Linked DNA regions of Homo sapiens: region 2 is linked to region 1. The links are contacts of gene promoters, found by promoter capture Hi-C in blood cells and fetal thymus (Javierre and others, 2016). All regions are on one chromosome and are shown on one strand. Each heading gives the region's core, a stretch centred on a gene start or on the middle of the fragment in contact. The rest is flanking DNA. Distances are from core to core; before and after follow the strand shown.

Region 1 (4,532 bases), core at 1,149-3,648:
GAAATAGCATGTGCATAAATAATAATTGTTTTGTAGGCTGGGAGACTGCCCCTTTAAGAGCCTCATAATGGGAGAGTCAGAAGAGCCCAGAGGTCTCAAACGGAAATGACTGGAGAACCAGCAAGTGGCATAAGTGTGTGAAGTCAGCTGGGGCGAGATTGGGATGTGCTGGAGAGTGTGCATGTACTGACGAAAGGCCATCAAATACAATTTAAAATAATTAGCCCACTCCAAAGAGTCTTCTGCAGCACGCACTTCTGCTAAGGGCTGCAGTGAGTGGGCTCTCACCTCAACCTGAACCAGACGGAGGCTGAGGCTGGGCCCCACTGAGGGGCTGTGACTTGCCCAAGGTCATCCAGGGCCAGGCCTGTGCCCACATTGGGACTCTTTTCCTCCCTCAGACAGAGGGCACTTCAGTCACTGCAGAGCAGGTGGCAGCAGCCCTTCAGTGGATGAGTTTCTCCTTTCCCAGGGTGACTGGGTGGGTGAAGGAATTGAGCAACAGGTGGCCAGGCTGCCGCCTCTCACCCTGACACATTGGTCCCCATCCCCTCATCCTACAGCCATCTCAGGGACAGATGGAGACATTCCAATGCCCTCCGGGTCCTCCACCAACCCAGACAGAGCCTGGAGTCACAATGCCCACCTAGCCAGAGGGATCAGCCAGCTAGCCAAGTGCCCCCTGTGTCTTTCATCTGTTCTTCACAAGACCCACAAGTGAAAAATGAGGATAAACCGCACATTCTACACACGATAACAACATAGCAAGTCCTTATACTGCTCTTACTGTGTGCCCGGCCCCCTTAGCAGTAGGTACTATTATTATTCAATTTTACAAAGAAACTAACTGAGGGACAGAGAGGCAAAGTAATTCCCTGCAGGTACTCTAATGAGTACGTGGCAGAGCTGGGAGCCATCCTGGTTGTCTGCCTCGAAAGACCACACTCTTTGCACTGCATCGCGGCACTTCCTGCGGGGTGGGGGGCACAATGGGAGAAGCATCTGCGTCTAATGCTGCTTTACTTTTGAGGCCAGAAAAATGGGAAGGCTCCCCTCTGACTCTGGAAGAGAGACGCAAACCGTAATCTCAACAACACAATCCCCACCTCCAACCTCAGCCGCCCTGGAGCCTCTCTCCCGCCAGTCCGCCCACTGGAACACGGGTTCCATGTGCCATCCAGGGTCAACGCCGCTCTGGGGACGCGTCAGGCCCAGCGCACAGCCTGGGCAGCTCAGCCTGTCAGCTGAGCACGGGCGCCTCAAGGGGTGCGGCCCTCTCAGAAGGAAGGTGAGTCTCCCTGGAGCCCCTGACGACAGCGAAGCGGCTGGGCGCTCTCCGGGGAGTGGGCGCGGCACCCAAGAAGGGTTTCTTACAGTTCCAAGAGAGGACCCCAGCCACAGTCACTCCAGAGCCCACCCGGGGCTTGGAGGAGGCTCTGGAAAATGAGGGATGGGGGAGTGTGCAGAACAGGGGGCGGAGGCTGGCAGGAGCCGAGGGAGGGCTTGGTCGGGTGCGAAGAGTGCCTGGGAGGAGTTAGAGTGGGGAGGGGGTGCGGCGGCGGGGAGAGAAGAGGCGGAGCTGGGGGACCAGACCGCTAAAGGAGAAAGGGGGATTCCAGGCAAGGGGAATGTGGCCAGGCAGTGCGGGAGGGCGGCAGCGGCCAGGCTAATATTCGCGACCCCGACTGGGGCGCGGCAACTTCTGCCCTCAGTCCCCACAAGCTCCCGGCCGCGATTCGCGGCCGAGAAATTCTGCGGAGGGGCCGGTGGGTCAGAGCCAGGCCAGGCAGTTGCTGAGCCTTCCCCTCCCCTCCTGGCGGGAGTGTGTGTGCAAGGGGCCAGGGGGCGGAGTCGGAGAAAGGGTTGGGGGTGTCCGTGTCCAGCGCTCCTCCGGACGCGGCTCCACAATCCAGCTGCGAGAACAGATGGACGCAGCGGCGGCTCACCTCGGGGGCTTCCTGCTCGCTGTGCGCCGAGGTCCAGGCTGAAGCGGAGATCGCAAGCCTCTGGCTCCCGCCTCTCCCAAGGGGCCTCGAGGAACCGGCTGCCGCGCCCCCTTCCCCAAGAGGAGAAGAGCGGGCGCTGACCCCGCGAGTCCTAGAACCGCGGGCGGGGGGCAGGCAGGGGGCGGGGGGCAGAGGGCCAGCTACCGGCGCGGAACGCCCATCCCAGGGGCTGGTTCAAGACTTCCACACCGAGAGCCCTTCCTGGGCCTCCAGCCCTGGAGCATCTGGAGAGCGGACCCCTGCCCGGCCACGCCCCGCCCCCGGCCCCCGCCCCGCCGACGTCGCATTAGCATGAGCGACGTAAGTGGCCCGGGCACCACTCGGGGGCTGGGACTCGCCGCGTCACAGCCCCGAGTGGAAGGGAAAAAAAAAGAGGAGGCGGCGGAGGAGGCAAGAGCCGACGCGAGGGGAGGGGAGCGCAGCGGCGGGGCTAACGGGCGGGCAAGCGGGCGGGCGGCAACAGCATGTCCCTCGGCCAGCGCGGGCGGCCTCTTAGCGCGGCGGGGGCTGCTCTGGGCGCGCCCCGGGCGAAGTGCGCCCAGTCTCCGGCCCCGGCCCCTCGGCGCGCCCGACTTCCCGGCCGCCCCTGAGCCCAGCAGCCGCGGGTCCCGGGATCGGCTAAGAGTAGCTGCAACGCCTCGCCGGACGGAGTCCTTTCCTTTCCCGGGACGCTGGGCCATGAGCTCCGCGGCCACCTGAGGCACAGGGGAGTCTGCTCGGCCAGGACAGCCTCCCCGAAGTCCCGTGCCCTCGCCTCTGCACTGCGGGACGCCAGCGCTCGGCCCTGGCGGAGGCGTCCTCGGAAGAGCATCGGGGTGGGGGCATGGAATCCGCGGAACCTGCGGGCCAGGCCCGGGCGGCGGCCACCAAGCTGTCGGAGGCTGTGGGCGCGGCGCTGCAGGAGCCCCGGCGGCAGAGGCGCCTGGTGCTTGTTATCGTGTGCGTGGCGCTGTTACTGGACAACATGCTGTACATGGTCATCGTGCCCATAGTGCCCGACTACATCGCCCACATGCGCGGGGGCGGCGAGGGCCCCACCCGGACTCCCGAGGTGTGGGAGCCCACCCTGCCGCTGCCCACTCCGGCCAATGCCAGCGCCTACACGGCCAACACCTCGGCGTCCCCGACAGCTGCGTGGCCAGCGGGCTCAGCCCTTCGGCCCCGCTACCCTACGGAGAGCGAAGACGTGAAGATCGGGGTGCTGTTTGCTTCCAAGGCTATCCTGCAGCTGCTAGTGAACCCCTTGAGCGGGCCCTTCATCGACCGCATGAGCTACGACGTGCCGCTGCTGATCGGCCTGGGCGTCATGTTCGCCTCTACAGTCCTGTTCGCCTTCGCCGAGGACTACGCCACGCTGTTCGCGGCGCGCAGCCTGCAGGGCCTGGGCTCAGCCTTCGCCGACACGTCTGGCATAGCCATGATCGCCGATAAGTACCCGGAGGAGCCGGAGCGCAGTCGTGCACTGGGCGTGGCGCTGGCCTTCATTAGCTTCGGAAGCCTAGTGGCCCCGCCCTTCGGGGGCATCCTCTATGAGTTCGCCGGCAAGCGCGTGCCCTTCTTGGTGCTAGCTGCCGTGTCGCTCTTTGACGCGCTGTTGCTGCTGGCAGTGGCCAAACCCTTCTCGGCGGCTGCACGGGCTCGGGCCAACCTGCCAGTGGGCACTCCCATCCACCGCCTCATGCTAGACCCCTACATTGCCGTGGTGGCCGGCGCGCTCACCACCTGTAACATTCCCCTCGCCTTCCTCGAACCCACCATTGCCACGTGGATGAAGCATACGATGGCGGCTTCCGAGTGGGAGATGGGCATGGCCTGGCTGCCGGCCTTCGTGCCTCATGTGCTGGGCGTCTACCTCACCGTGCGCCTGGCGGCGCGCTACCCACACCTGCAGTGGCTGTACGGCGCGCTTGGGCTGGCTGTGATCGGCGCCAGCTCGTGCATCGTGCCCGCCTGCCGCTCCTTCGCGCCGCTAGTGGTCTCACTATGCGGCCTCTGTTTTGGCATAGCCCTAGTCGACACAGCACTGCTGCCCACGCTCGCCTTCCTGGTGGACGTGCGCCATGTCTCAGTCTATGGCAGCGTCTACGCCATCGCCGACATCTCCTATTCGGTGGCCTACGCGCTCGGGCCCATAGTGGCAGGCCACATTGTGCACTCGCTGGGCTTTGAGCAGCTCAGCCTTGGCATGGGACTGGCCAACCTGCTCTATGCTCCCGTCTTGCTGCTGCTCCGCAACGTGGGCCTCCTGACGCGCTCCCGTTCCGAGCGCGATGTGCTGCTTGATGAGCCACCGCAAGGTCTGTACGATGCGGTGCGCCTGCGTGAGCGTCCTGTGTCTGGCCAGGACGGCGAGCCTCGCAGCCCGCCTGGCCCTTTTGATGCGTGCGAGGACGACTACAACTACTACTACACCCGCAGCTAGCATCCCCACTCCTCCTCCAGCCCACCCAACCGCCTTGGGTCAAGGGGGCTGCTCTGCAAGCCCACTGGCCAGCTCTGGCTCAGGGCCCACCTCCTCCAGCGAGT
Region 2 (4,356 bases), core at 1,651-4,150, 170 kb after region 1:
GGAAGGAATGAAGTAAGTTTGCTACATGAACAAGACTCTGCCTCAAAAAAAAAAACTACTTTTAGTCATTAAGGTCTGATCACTTCTGCTATGCATGGTGGCAGATACATGGTGGCTTTTCCTTTGATGAATTATGTTTTCTTTGCCATTTCTGAGATTATTATAGCTTAGCTGTGTCTGAACACTGACATCAAATTACAAGATGCATGAGTCATCATGGAAGAGACCCAAGGGAAAAAAGCAGGGCCTAATAAACTAGCCTCTGGGTCACAGCCTAACAGCATCCTTCTCCAAAGGGATGAGCTAAGCCTGCAGCCAGACATTGTCAGTGACTATTAAGGAGATCTGAATGCAAAATGTGAATGTCACCTGAGTCAGGATTAGTGGATGCATGAGACTCTCCTTTTCCTAGCAAGTAGATTCTTACCTTACTGAGTTCTACTCTGTGCTAGGGACATGATCCCTGCCCTCAGGCGTCTCACAGTCTGCACAGCAGAAACAGATAAATAAACGGGAAATCATGACCCAGCATAATAAGTCATGTCTGATGGAAACTGCAGGGCCCAGGGCCTAAGAAGGGCAGATTTTAATGTCTTGAAGAATTTAAGCTGACCACCAATGTTGAGAGGTGAAGCCAGCTGGACTTCCTGGGTCAAGTGGGGACTTGGAGAACTTTTCTGTCTAGCTAGAGGATTGTAAATGCACCAATCAGCACTCTGTGTCTAGCTAAAGGATCATAAATGCACCAATCAGCACTCTGTAAAATGGACCAATCAGCACTCTGTAAAATGGACCAATCAGCAGGACGTGGGTGGGGACACATAAGGGAATAAAAGCTGGTCACCCCAGCCAGCAGCAACAATGCTCTGATCCCCTTCCGTGTTGTGCAGGCTTTGTTCTTTGGGTCTTCACAATAAATCTTGCTGCTGCTCACTCTTTGGGTCTGTGCCACCTTTAAGAGCTGTAACACTCACTGTGAACCTCCATGGCTTCATCCTTGAAGTCAGCGAGACCAAGAACCCACTGGAAGGAACCACCTCCGGACACATGTGAGTCAAGAAGAAGGGCAATAGAACTTTTGAGCAAATAGCGATGCACCTGAAATTTTTTAAAAGTTAGCTTTCAGAGGCTAAAAGAGGCCTTTGAGTCTCCCAGACACAGGAAGTGTATTACAGGGAGACTAGTTCTAACCATCAGGTTCAAGAGCAAGGGGTTGCACATGTAAGGAAGGAGTTGCCAGGGGTCCTGGTTTCTGATCCTAGCTTGAATGCACTCTGCTTGTGGAGTCCTGAGAGGCCAGGTGGCTTCTCTGGGCTCAGTTTCCCTACTTGGGAATAGGTATAGACCAGAGGATCTCTGCAAGCTTCTTTCCAGATAGGACATGCTATGGCTGCTTAATATTTTTAAACAGGACAGAACTGCATCATCTCAAATGCTCATGGCAAGTCAACTCCACTGTATGCATTTTATCACTTCATGATATAATTTAATTTTGCTTGTGAGCTCATCGTACATATCAAACCACATGCAAAAAAAAAAAAAAAAAAGCCAAGCCAGAGAGAACATAAAAAAAGACAATGGCTTGAGGACATGATCTGGGGTCAAGAAATGAGACCTTTTTAACTCTTGAGTGCTCATGATGCAAAGTGAACCTGAGACCATCGAGGGATGACGAATGGATGCGAGCCACTCTTCCTCCACAAACTTCACCTTCCTTCCACCATCCTCAGAGTACCATGTCTAAAACTAGGATACTCATCAGTTGAATTGGATGGGAATGAAATCCAAGTCCCACCTCCATGGATTCCAGCCACACTCACTAAACATGAGAACAGGCAGAACGCACACAGAATGAGAAGTGGGCGTGTGAACAGGGGGCTGAAGTCTGGAAGGCACTGAGCAACAGAAGCTACCAGCTCTTTCGCCTTGAGAAAGCCTGGCTGTGCTTTGTATCTTGTCTGTAAATATCTGTTTACTGAGTTAAAATGCAAACAGTCTGGGTGTGCCTTAAAAGTGAACACCAAAAAGGAAAGGCCTAACCCAGTTCAGTGGCTCATGCCTATAATCCCAGTGCTTCAGAAGGCTCAGGTGGGAGGATTGCTTCAGGCCAGGAGTTTGACACCAGCCTGGGCAACACAACAAGATCCCGTCTCTATAAAAATTTAAAAATGTAGCCGGGCACAGTGGTGTGCACTTGTAATCCCAGCTACTTGGAAGCCTGAGGCAGGAGGATCTCTTGAGCCTGGAAGGTCGAGGCTGCAGTGAGCCATGATTGCACCACTGCACTCCAGCCTGGGTGACAGAACAAGACCCTGTCTTAAAAAAAAAAAAAAAAAAAAAAAAAAAGGAAGGGAGAGAGGGAAGGAGAGAAGGAGGAAAGGGAGGGGAGGGGGAGGGAAGGGGGAGGGAAGAGCGAGGGAAGGGGGAGGGGAGGGGAGAAGAAAGAGACCTGTGGGAAAGCTGATGTGAGCGTGACAAGGGAGGTGTCCTCATTCAACACATTGACTTTTGCAGTTTGCTCTGTGCTCAGGGCTGGGAACTCAGGGATGAGATAGCCAGTCGGTGTCCTGCTAAAGCAGAATGGTAAGACACACACACAAATGAGAACAAAACCCTGTGCTGAGAACACTGCATTCTTCCACTCGAAGCATTGCGTGGACCTGTAGCGGCAGCACCACCTGGGGGTTTGTTAGAAAAGAATCTTAGGCTCCAGAACCAGAATCTGCATTGTAGCAGGAACTCCAGGGTTTTAGAAGCATGGCTGCATAGGGTAAGGGGCCCTGGGGAGCTTACAGTGGGAGGAGAAGGGCTGATTCTGTCTAAGAGGGTCAGGGAAGGCCTCCCCCAGGAAGTCACATTTGGGCTGGATCTTCAAAGATGAGTAGGAACTTAATTTGAGAAGAGATGGAGGAAATTCCAAGCAGAGGAAGGGGTAGGATGAGATGGTGACAGACTGCAGAGAGAGATGATGCTGAACTGGAAACGGGGGCTAGAATCTGATTTTGAAGGCACCTGTACTCATCTACCATATTCAAGAATTTATGTTTTGTTTGTCTCCTGAGGATGAGAATCAAGTAAGGAGGGAGAACATTCTCCAGGCACCATGCTGACGTTTAATCAATGCAGGGTGTTCAGGGCACATTAGAGATGCTGATGACCTTGTTCACAGCGGAGATTTGCTCTCAGGGAAAATAGTAAAGACTGGTGGCTTTCAGGTCTGCTCACAGAGGGTGGGAGGGTCCTGTATTTAAAGGGAAACAGAAAAAAATGTTTCCATCTAAGGACAACTTCTTCTTTTTTTTTTTTTCCTGAAGGTGATAAAAGCAAGGGAATTATCAATTACTCTAAATGGTAGGAAGCCAAAATATGGTGCCAAAGGACTGGAAAGTAATTTTTCTTGGAGGCAAAGTAGCAACTGTTTAATCTTTTAAACAGCCTCATGGAAGGCCAAGGCAGAGAGAGAGAGAGAGAGCTTGCTTCGCCTTAGCAGAAACCTGCTTGTAACTCAGGACTCAGAAGCCTGGTGTTGTCCAAGGACGGTCCACAGACCGACTGGTCCCATGGCGGGTGGAGCCCACGCTGCCCAGGACCCCGGCTCTGGGAGCGATTGCCTTCCCCATGCAGGCCTGGGCCCTCCTTCAGCTCCCAACTGGCCAGATCCTCTCAATGACGAGCCAGAGGAAGCCATGTGCTTTTAAAAATGCCAGAGGACATTTGTCACACTCTGTTATCATAATGATTATTGATTGCTTAAGTGGTCTTGTGTGTGTGGAATAATATAGCACATCCAATCTAGCACAGATAATTCAGACAGCTCCCACTTTTAGAGATAATGTTGTCTTGGCATCTGAAGGTGTTTTATTGTAGCGACAGTCCTTGGGCCATTGGGACTGTGTATTGGGGGTATAGTATGTGAGAAGTAAAAGGAGAGCATTAGCAACCAGGACTAAACTATGCTGCAATGTGTAGAAGGAAAAAAAAAATGTGGGAGCTTCTGTTATTAGCACTCATTAAATGCTGGCCCTTTAATGAATGCTTTCTAGCACTCATCTCTAATTCATTCCACAACCCTACAAGAGAGCTGTCATTAGCCCCATTTTCAAATGAGTAACCTGGGGTCTGGTGAGGGTGGTTGTCAGGGCCCCGCAGCCAAGCTGTGCAGAGCTGGTGTTCAGGTCTAGGTCAGCCTGTTGTGGACCACAGCTCACCACTCTGACTTCCTGTAGTGTACTACCCTGCCATTCAGAAGTCTCTAAGATGCTGCAAGTTTGCTGAGAGTTTGTCTAGCCTTCAGAAAATTCACACAAAAGAAAAAAACAGGGAAAAGGCAGAAAACAGACAAAATCCACATAGGTA

What was found. The method cuts DNA at HindIII sites, captures the fragments that hold promoters and counts their contacts. A CHiCAGO score of 5 or more calls a contact.
Region 2: a contact is called between a fragment that was not itself captured here and the fragment with the promoter of SLC18A3 in region 1, in 2 of 17 cell types (M2 macrophages and M1 macrophages). The highest score is 5.8, in M2 macrophages.

The regions. Positions count from the first base shown.
Region 1 is chr10:49,607,912-49,612,443 of GRCh38, forward strand. SLC18A3 (solute carrier family 18 member A3) reads left to right here and starts at 2,399. Exons shown (of 1, transcript NM_003055.3): 1 at 2,399-4,532. The coding sequence starts at 2,830. The coding sequence ends at 4,428. It also overlaps a transcript of CHAT not described here. RefSeq lists enhancers at 736-1,531, 1,532-2,326, 3,371-4,267, 4,268-4,532. The HindIII fragment of the contact is 17,270 bases long and covers 1-4,532 here.
Region 2 is chr10:49,781,190-49,785,545 of GRCh38, forward strand. No RefSeq gene overlaps it. Among named protein-coding and RNA genes, the nearest start is that of OGDHL, 21 kb to the left of the region's middle. The HindIII fragment of the contact is 3,078 bases long and covers 1,362-4,356 here.